Linked DNA regions of Homo sapiens: region 1 is linked to region 2. Evidence: promoter capture Hi-C in human tissues and cell types (Jung and others, 2019). All regions are on one chromosome and are shown on one strand. Each heading gives the region's core, a stretch centred on a gene start or on the middle of the fragment in contact. The rest is flanking DNA. Distances are from core to core; before and after follow the strand shown.

Region 1 (4,911 bases), core at 247-2,746, 450 kb after region 2:
CAAAAAAAAAAGTTAACACAGCATTCACTGAAACCCCTGAGGCTTTTTTTTTTTTTTTTTTTTTTCAAATCTTGTGGACTTCTGACTGGTACAACTGCAGCTGCCTTGCCTGGTAACTTGGGTACCTGGTTTGTGGGTCCAACTGCAGGCCATTCAGGTAGACTTGATTTTTTTTTTAATTTAAAAAAAGGCTTTTTTTTCTTTTTTCTTTTAAAGAGACAGAGTCTCACTTTGTTGCCCAGGCACTGGTGTGCAGCGGTGCGATCACAGCTTGCTTACGCCTTGACCTCCTGGGCTCAAGCAATCCTCCCAGCTCAGCCTCCCAAAGTGCTGGGACCACAGGCACACACCAACGCCCAGCCCTCAGTGGTTTTGATGGATTAGTGTATCCCCAGACCCTCCGAAGGGGAGGACAGTGCCTTATCTCTCTCTTTCTTCCACCAAGAAGGCCACAACCGGCCTTTTAACCTTGATCCAAGCGAGGCTGAAAAGCAAACAGGGCGTTCATCTTCATCCTTTATAGCCACATAGCCACATCTCCCGCCCACAAGCAGATTCCACCACCCCCCGCACCCTAAGGCCCAGCCTCATCAGCTGCAGCATCTTCACCTGGCCTTTCACACTGAAGCAGAAGGGGTGACGGTTTACTTTCAGCTGCATGGTCTCCATCATACCCGTAGACCCAACAGCTGAGCTTCCCCTCTGTCCCTTCTCCTCAGCTCACTGCCCCACTAGCCATTCTGCATGTTCAAACAGTGCAGGAGCAACATGGAAGATATAACCAAAGGCTCAAGCTGGATTGTAGAGATGAAAACTACAATACAGGAGATGAAAAATACACTGGACGGGATTAATGGCAGGTCAGATGTTGCAGAATCTTTTATTGGTGGGTTTGAAAACATAGGAATAGAAACTATCCAAAATGAAACGCAGAGTAAGAAATGTTTCTAATGAAAAGAGCATCAGTAGGTTGTGGGGAAGCTTCATGCAGCCTAATATACATGGAATTAAAAGTCCCCACATGTGAGGGGAAGAAGGAGGGACTCAAGGCCAATGAAAAGAGAAAATCCTAAAAGCAACCAAGACACACTACAGAGACACTAAGATAAAAATAGTAGCAGATTTCTCACTGGAAACAATGCAAGCCAGAAGTCAGAGGGGCAAAATTTTTAAAGTACTGAAAAAAAAAAAAAAAGCGGGGGGCCAGGCATGGTGGCTCACGCCTGTAATCCCAGCACTTTGGGAGGCCAAGGGGGGCGGATCACAAGGTCAGGAGATCGAGACCATCCTGGCTAACACGGCGAAGCCCCGTTTCTACTAAAATCACAAAAAATTAGACGGGCATGGTGGCATGCGCCTGTAGTCCCAGCTACTCAGGAGGCTGAGGCAGGAGAATGGCGCAAACCCGGGAGGCAGAGCTTGCAGTGAGCTGAGATCGCACCACTGCACTCCAGCCTGGGCGACAGAGCAAGACTCCATCTCAAAAAACAAAACAAAACAAAACAACAACAACAAAAAAGAAGGCAAAATAAAGACGTTTTCAGACATACAAAAGCTGAGAGAATTCATTACCCCCAGAGCCATATTACAAGAAATGCTAAAGGATGCCCTTAAGGTAGAAGAAAAATACCAGATGGAAATGTGGATCCTCACAAAGGAATGAAGAGCACAGAAATACAATGGGTGAGTATGTGAGATTTTCTCACACGATTTAAGTATATTTTAAACAAAAATAATAATGATGTATCATGGATTTATAACATGTAACAGTAAACACATGATATAATAACATAGAATGAAGGTTAGGAGGGGTGGAATAGATGTATGCTTTTTTAAGGGTAGACTGGCAAGTTAAGGTACATGCCATAAACCCTAAAGCAACTCAAAATAAATCAAAGACCTAACTGTAAGAGCTTGAACTATAAAATGCTTAGAAGAAAACACAGGTGTAAATCTTTGTGATCTTGGATTTCTTAGCTATGATACCAAAATCATAAGCAACAAAGGAAAAAAATAGATAAATTAGGACTTCACCAAAATTTAAAACTTTTGTGGCACAAAGGATACCATCAAGAAAGTGCAGGGCCGGGCATGGTGGCTCACGCCTGTAATCCCAGCACTTTGGGAGGCCGAGGCGGGTGGATCACCTGAGGTCAGGAGTTCAAGACCAGCCTCAACATGGAGAAACCCTTTCTCTACTAAAAATACAAAATTAGCCAGGCGTGGTGGTGCATGCCTGTAATCCCAGCTACTCAGGAGGCTGAGGCAGGAGAATTGCTTGAACCTGGGAGGCGGAGGTTGCGGTGAGCCGAGATTGTGCCATGGTACTCCAGCCTGGGCAACAAGAGCGAAACTCCGTCTCAAAAAAAAAAAAAAAGAAAGAAAAAGAAAAAGAAAATGCGAAGAGGCCAGGCACGGTGGCTCATGCCTGTAATACCGGCACTCTGGGAGGCCGAGGTGGGCGGATCACCTGAGGTCAAGAGTTCAAGACCAGCCTGGCCAACATGGTGAAACCCCATCTCTACTAAAAGTACAAAAATTAGTCGGGTATAGTGGTGTGTGCCTGTGGTCCCAGCTACTTGGGAGGCTGAGGCAGGAGAATCATTTGAGCCCAGGAGGCACAGGTTGCAGTGAGCCAAGATCACACCACTGCACTCCAGTCAGGGTGACAGAGCGAGACTCCATCTCAAAAAACAAAACAACGGCGGCTCACACCTGTTAATCCCAACCCTTTGGGAGGCCAAGGTGGGTGGAACACTTGAGAGGTCAAGAGTTCAAGACCAGCCTGGCCAGTATGGTGAAACCCCGTCTCTACTAAAAATACAAAAAATTAGCTGGATGTGGTGGTGCACACCTGTAATCCCAGCTACTCGGGAGGCTGAGGTGGGAGAATTGCTTGAGCCCGAGAGGCCGAGGTTGCAGTGAGCCGAGATGGTGCCACTGCACCCCAGCCTGGGCAACAGAGTCAGACCCTGTCTGAAAACAAACAACCAACCAACCAAAAAACAGCTGAAATGTCCAGAACAGACACATCCACGGATATAGGAAGTAGATTAGTGGTTGCCAGGGGCTGGGGAGAGGGGGGAAGAGACTGACTGCCAATGGGTACAGGGTATTTTGGGGAGAAACTAAAATGTTCTTGAATAACACAGGTTTGAACTGCACAGGTCCACTCATACATGGATTTTTTTTCAATAAATATAATCCCTTGACCGGGCACAGTGGCTCCCACCTGTAATCCCAACACTTTGGAAGGCCAAGGTGGGCGGATCACCTGAGGTCAGGAGTTCGAGACCAGCCTGGCCAACATGGTGAAACCCCGTCTCTACTAAAAATACAAAAATTAGCTGGGCGTGGTGGCAGGCACCTGTAATCCCAGCTACTCGGGAGGCTGAGGCAAGAGAACTGCTTGAATCCAGGAGGTGGAGAGTGCAGTGAGCTGAGATTGTGCCATTGCACTCCAGCCTGGGTGACAAGAGCGAAACTCGGTCTCAAAAAAATATATATATTATCTCTCCATATCAGCAAGTTCCAAATCTGTAACCAAACTCGGATTGGAAATACAGTACTCCACTGGACATGGTGGCTCATGCCTGTAATCCAGCACTTTGGGAGGCTGAGGCAGACGGATCACTTGAGCTCAGGAATTCAACACCAGCCTGGGCAACATAGCGAAACCCACCTTCTCCACCAAAAAAATACAAAAAGTAGCTGGGCATGGTGGCGCCTGTGGTCCCAGCCACTCGGGAGGCTGAGGTGGGAAAATCGCTTGAACCCGGGAGGTGGAGGTTGCAGTGAGCCGAGATTGCACCATTTACTGCAGCCTGGGCAACACATGAGACCTTGTCTCAAAAAAAAAAAAAAAAAAAAGAAAAGAAAGAAAGAAAGAAAAGAAAGAAAAAGAAAAAAACAGTATTCATAGGATGCAAAACTATATATACAGAGGGCTGACTCTGTATCTGTGGGTGCTTCAGGGCCAACTGCCTGACTCCAGTATGCACAAATTTCAGTGTCCATGGATTCTGCTAACAGCGGGAGTTCCTGAACCCAGTCGTCCTCGGGTACCAAGGGACAAATGCATACGTAATGTGAGGTATATCTCAATAAAACTATTCTAAAAATATGAAACACTTAGGGATGTATCTGATAAAATATGTGAAAGACGTAGACATTGAAAACCACAGGCCAGGCACCGTGGCTCATTCCTGTAATCCCAACGTTTTGGGAGGCCAAGGTGGGAGGATCATTTGAGCCCAGGATTTTGAGACCAGCCTGGGCAACACAGAGAGACCCTCATCTTTCTTTTTTTTAATAAAAAAAAAAAACTTGAGTAAAAAAGAAACTACAAAATGCTGCTAAAAGAAATGAAAAAATACCTAAATAAGAGATATACCACACGATCCAGTTGGTCCATTTTTAGGCACTTACCCAAAATAATTTAAAACATATATCCACACAAACACACAGACAGACGTTCACAGCAATACTGTCCACAATGGCCAAAAGGTGGAAACAATTCAAGTGTCCAGCTACAGGGGAACACGTACACGAAACGGCACAGCCATAAACAGAACACTACTCAGCAATGAAAAGCAAGAAACCATCGACACTCGCGCCAACGAAGATGAGTCTCAAGGTCATTACCCTGAGTGAAAGAAGCCAGAAGAGGAAGATGACATACAGCAGCATTCCGTTTATACGCAATTATAGAAAATGCAAACTATAGTGACAGACAGCACATGCCTGGTTGCCTAGGATGCAGAAGTGGGGGAAGCCGGAAGGAACTGCCAAGGTTTCAGAAAATGTTGGGGTGTTATGGGCTGAGCCATATCCCCTCAAAATCCCTATGTGGAAGCCCTAAACCCTAGCACTTCAGAATGTGACTGTATTTAGAGATAGGGTCTTCAAAAA
Region 2 (5,235 bases), core at 2,190-4,689:
GATAAGATCCTAGATCTTAAACTGTAGACTAAGATGAGGCTTAGCAAACATGTATCAATTTGAAGGTTTTCTCAAAGTACAGTATTCCTCCCACCCCCCACCCCCATATCCACAGGGGATACATTCCAACATCCCCAGTGGACGCCTGAAACCACAGATAATACTGAAATCTATACATACTATGTTTTTTCTTATACATATCTACAATTTTCTTATACATATCTACAATAAAGTTTAATTTATAGGCTGGGTGCGGTGGCTCACGCCTATAATCCCAGCACTTTGGGAGGCAGAGGCAGGTGGATTACCTGAGGTCAGGAGTTTGAGACCAGCCTGGCCAACATAGTGAAACCCTCTCTCTACTAAAAATACAAAAATTAGCCGGGCGTGGTGGTACACGCCTGTAATCCCAGCTACTCAGGAGGCTGAGGCAGAAGAATCGCTTGAACCCAGGAGGTGGAAGTTGCAGTGAGCCGAGATCGTGCCACTGCACTCCAGCCTGGGCAACAGAGCAAGACTCCATCTCAAAAAAAAAAAAAAAAAAAAGTTTAATTTATAAATTAGGCACAGTAAGAGATTAACAATTAATAATAAAACAATTACAACAATATACTGTAATAAAAGTTATGTGAATGTGGTTTCTATTTTAATATTTTTGGACCATGGTTGACCTCGGGTAACTGAAACCACCTAAAATCTCACAGGAGGATATATATTCAAAAGAACTGGAGGCAGAATCAAGAAGAGATTTTTGTACACCCCGTATTCATAGCACAATTATTCATAATAGCTAAAAGGTGGAAGCAACTCAAGTGTCCAATGACAGATGAATGAATAAACAAATTGTGGTATGGTATATACATACAATGAAATATTATTCAGCTTTTAAAAGGAAAGAAATCCTGTCACATGGATGAACCTTGAGGATATCATGCCAAGTGAAGTAAGTCAGTCATAAAAGGACTTATATTTTATGAGTCCGCTTCTAGGAAGTACCTAGAGTAGGCAAATTCATGGAGACAAAGTGGAACAGAGATTGACAGGGGCTGTGAGGAGCAGAAAATGGAGAGCTATTGTTTAATGTGAGTAGAGTTTCACTTTTGCAAGATGAAAAAGTTCTGAAAATCTGTTGCTCGTGAATGTACTCAACACTATTGAACTATAGACTGAAAAACGGTTAAGATGATAAAAATTTGGTTTTTTTAACCACAACTAAAAAAAAATCTGTATTAGAGAAAATTTCTTGACTTGATTCCAAATATATATTTAGTAGAAGGAATGCCACCTACTGACAAAGCAGTTTACTAGCAACTCCAAAATTAGCAAGCTGAATTAGCCATCTCCCAAAATGCAAACATAGCATGTTCCCGCCTAAAATCTGGGATGGTTCTTTACTCCCTGGCACTCTAACACAGTAATTTCCAATCTTTTGTCTTTCTTCTTTTAAGCAGCATAACTGTTCAGCTAAATCTTGGCCAGAACCATAACACAGGAAATAGCGTTTCTGGGTGAACAAGGCCAGAACAGGGTAGGGGCTTGCTTCCCTTGAGTGCTTCTCACTAGCCAACCTATGTAAGCCATTTCTTCTCTTTGAATATAAAAGGTAAATCCGCACAAAGGGGCAACATACTTAACAACCTGCCTGCAGTTTACCCATGAACCCGACCTTCTGCCCCTTCTTTGCTGCTCCCGATCCCATCTCTCACTTTCCTTTTCAATCCCGAGACCTAGCACACTGCCTGGAACATATCAGGTATTCTTGAGTGGATGAACTCAAGAATAGAAATAAGCCAGGGTTTGACAGTGACACACTTGGGATAAAATCTAACAATCATTCCTTGTCTTTACTAAAATAAACAGGTGACAGGAAGACAATACCGTAGAGTGCTTTGCAGCCAGACAGACTTGGCTTCAACTCTCCAGTCCCTACTTCTGTGACTCGAATAAAGTACCTCTGTAAACGTTAGTTTTCTCATGTTTAAAATCATCATCATCCTTGCTTCCAAAGGGATTGTAGGGATTAAAAGAAATAAGCCGCGATGAGGGAGTACAGGTGTTAAAAGCTGTGTAACAGGAAATGTACCAGCAGGTATTAGCTTCCATCGTTATCATTACCGAACACAACACCGCTGTACAGATTCGAAGGCACGAACCCGTAGGCACGGAGCTCACGGAGCTGGGGCAAGAGCTGGGTGTCCCCCAAGAGCGGGGGATGCCCACTACGGATTCTCCCTGGGGAGCGCCCTGATTCTGTTCCCATCCCCAGCAACCTTGCAACTAACTTTGGGTTTATGGAAACCTGTTGCGCGTCCAGCACTTGGGAAACCCGTGAATGGACACAAACCTTCCTTTCTTTCGTCAAGGAGGGCAAGTCCGGCTGAGACAGAATGCGAGCCACGTTCAGGACCGGCGGACGCGACCACAGGCGGTTAGTGGTCAAGGGTCCTGCTTGTGCCCGGTGCGGCCGATGAGCCTGCAGGCCGGACTCAGGCCCGGGTGACTCGGCACCTCCGCCGCCGTCCCGCCCCGCCCTGCCCCGCCGGGCCCTACCTCAGGCCCCGGGCCAAGGCCCAGCCCCCGCCCGCTGCCCGTCAGCGCTTACCATGATGGACACCACCTGGCAGACTCCGCTCCTCTCAGGCAATGCAACGAAGAAACCCCGCCGACCGCTCTCCCAGCCGCCGCTGCCGCTGCCGCCGCGCCAAGCCGGTACGCCCCAGAGGCTCACCGGAAGTGCCGGACCCGAGACCCGGAGGGGGGGTGCCCGGGACAAAGCGTCGGCTGCAAAAGAGAAAAGGCCAGGCGAAGACGCTAGGCTCTAAAACACCCTCAGTAGAAGCATTAAAATGCCCTTTCGTGATTTATTTCCCCTTTTATAGGTATTTTTAAACGTTATTTTAAATTACGTGTTGACAGTATTCCCCTCCAGACGAATTTAGTAGGGCCCATTGTCCTTACGACTACACTACCCACAATGCACTACCCAGACTGCCTCTGCTTCAGCCATCGAGGACTCGGGCGGAACTAAGCTACAAATCCTTCTTCAAACCACACCAAAAACCTATTGCAAACGTAAATGCTGCCCCATTGGGTATGTGACTGAGTTTAATGTATGGTTAGAAGTATACTTTCCCTGAGGGTTCCCAGTGGGAGGCAGTAGGCTTCTCTTCCCAAAGTAAAGATGTCCGCCCAGCGTCGCTTTTCTGGGTAAAAGCGAGTCAGAGTTGAAGGGGGCAACAGTGTTTGCGTTCGGCCTCAGAGGTGACGCTTCTTTGGGGGCGGGCTGGAGTTTTCTGGCCGTGAATGGCAGAGCGCTAATGGCCGCCTCCAATGTGGCCCAATCAGAAAGAAAGGAAGGCTGGGAACTAAGAAGCTATTGGTTGGTGATCCCTGGACCAATCGGAGGAGCCGTGATTTGGCGGGAGTCTTGACCGCCGCCGGGCTCTTGGTACCTCAGCGCGAGCGCCAGGCGTCCGGCCGCCGTGGCTATGTTCGTGTCCGATTTCCGCAAAGAGTTCTACGAGGTGGTCCAGAGCCAGGTGACGCCCAGTCCGGGACCCCCGCCGAGGCCTTGCCGGTGGGGAAGGGATGAGGGGGAGCGACCGTGGGTGACCGGGAGGCAGGGGAGGGCCGGGGTTCGGGTCGCCGTGTTCAGCCGGTCTGCTCTTCCCCGATAGAGGGTCCTTCTCTTCGTGGCCTCGGACGTGGATGCTCTGTGTGCGTGCAAGATCCTTCAGGTGAGTTCTGCGGACCCTAGGAGGGCGGGGCCGGCGCGCGAGGTGAGGGTGCTGCGTGGGGGCGCAGGGCGGGCAGAGTGTCAGGATGGGTGCTGAGGGCTTAGGGTGGGAGAGGGAGCAGGGCAGGAGGTGAACAGCAAGTGAGAGGAGAGAGACTCGGAGGAGAGGTTGCCTCCCTGTCCCAACGGTGTGGGGTGGGATAAAGGATTAAGTAAAAGGTAAAGAGACTAGTTTGTATTTTTGCAATAAGCTATTAATATTAATAGGTGAACACAGCAGTTGCATTTGGGGGAAACTTTGGATCTGTCGTGGCCTCTCAAATGGGGGATTTGAGAGAGAGGAATCTGTGACAACTGTGGGTATAGTCGTGTCACAGGTGTTGCTGGGAATATGGGAGCCCCTAGTCTATTAGGGAAGATCGTTAGTTTGGTTTTGAATAGGGCATAGTATTTACGTTGTTTTGGTCAGGCCCTTGGATCAGGAACTTTTCAGAAGGCCTGGAAGTTAAATCGGCATTTCTCCCCGATGTTTTACTTTGGTAATTTGCAAAATTCACAGAATGGTATGGTAAACGCTCATATCCCTAGCACCTAGCTTTTCCCGTAAGCATTTCACTAGCTTTAATGTTATCCCGTGTCTTTTGTCTCTCAACCCGTCTAATCTTCCTCAGTTTCTTTTCAAGGTAAATTGCTAATGTCCTAAATAAGATAGGCTTTGAAAACACTCTCTCTCCAGGCCTTGTTCCAGTGTGACCACGTGCAATATACGCTGGTTCCAGTTTCTGGGTGGCAAGAACTTGAAACTGCATTTCTTGAGCATAAAGAACAGGTATTGAAGATGCGTTTTAGAATAACGTGGCTTTTTACTCAATTGTAATTTCTTGACACAGCATTCTATTTCCACGATAGATTAAGCGTGTATTTAAGTATCAGCTACATTAGGCAATATGGAAGAGAAAAACATGCTGTATTTACTGGTGACTTACCACGCCCAAGTTGTAGAAGCAAAATTGACAGCAAAAAAAGATAATGAATGTGGATAGCCCCAACTTTGAACTTGTTTTAACTTGTTTTGCAGAAATTTGATTGTAAGGTGCTTGGAATCTAGCAGTTTTTAATATGGTCTAGTTAAAATTATTTTATTTTATTTTGGTTTATTTTTTTATTTTTTATTTTTTTTGAAACGGAGTCTCGCTGTGTCGCCCAGGCTGGAGTGCAGTGGCACGATCTCGGCTCACTGCAAGCTGTGTCTCCTGGGTTCATGCCATTCTTCTGCCTCAGCCTCCTGAGTAGCTGGGACTACAGGCACCCGCCACCACACCTGGCTAATGTTTTTGTATTTTTAGTAGAGACGGAGTTTCACCATGTTAGTCAGGATGGTCTTGATCTCCTGACTTTGTGATCTGCCCACCTCCGAAAGTGCTGGGATTACAGGTATGAGCCACCACGCCCAGCCTTTATTTATTTATTTTTGAGACGGAACCTCGCTTTGTCACTCA

Evidence for each region. Contacts are between HindIII fragments. The study calls those that stand out against the background at their distance.
Region 1: a contact is called between a fragment that was not itself captured here and the fragment with the promoter of CDC45 in region 2, in 1 of the 25 tissues and cell types used here (dorsolateral prefrontal cortex).

Annotation. Positions count from the first base shown.
Region 1 is chr22:19,923,802-19,928,712 of GRCh38, forward strand. All of the region lies in intron 2 of TXNRD2 (thioredoxin reductase 2), which reads right to left. Among named protein-coding and RNA genes, the nearest start is that of COMT, 16 kb to the right of the region's middle. The HindIII fragment of the contact is 5,179 bases long and covers 1-4,086 here.
Region 2 is chr22:19,476,481-19,481,715 of GRCh38, forward strand. It overlaps CDC45 (cell division cycle 45), which reads left to right and starts at 3,440. Exons shown (of 19, transcript NM_003504.5): 1 at 3,440-3,539; 2 at 3,678-3,737; 3 at 4,473-4,565. The coding sequence starts at 3,489. It overlaps UFD1 (ubiquitin recognition factor in ER associated degradation 1), which reads right to left and starts at 2,713. Exons shown (of 12, transcript NM_005659.7): 1 at 2,603-2,713. The coding sequence starts at 2,605. RefSeq lists silencers at 2,480-2,549, 3,340-3,389 and an enhancer at 2,950-3,249. The HindIII fragment of the contact is 17,956 bases long and covers 1-5,235 here.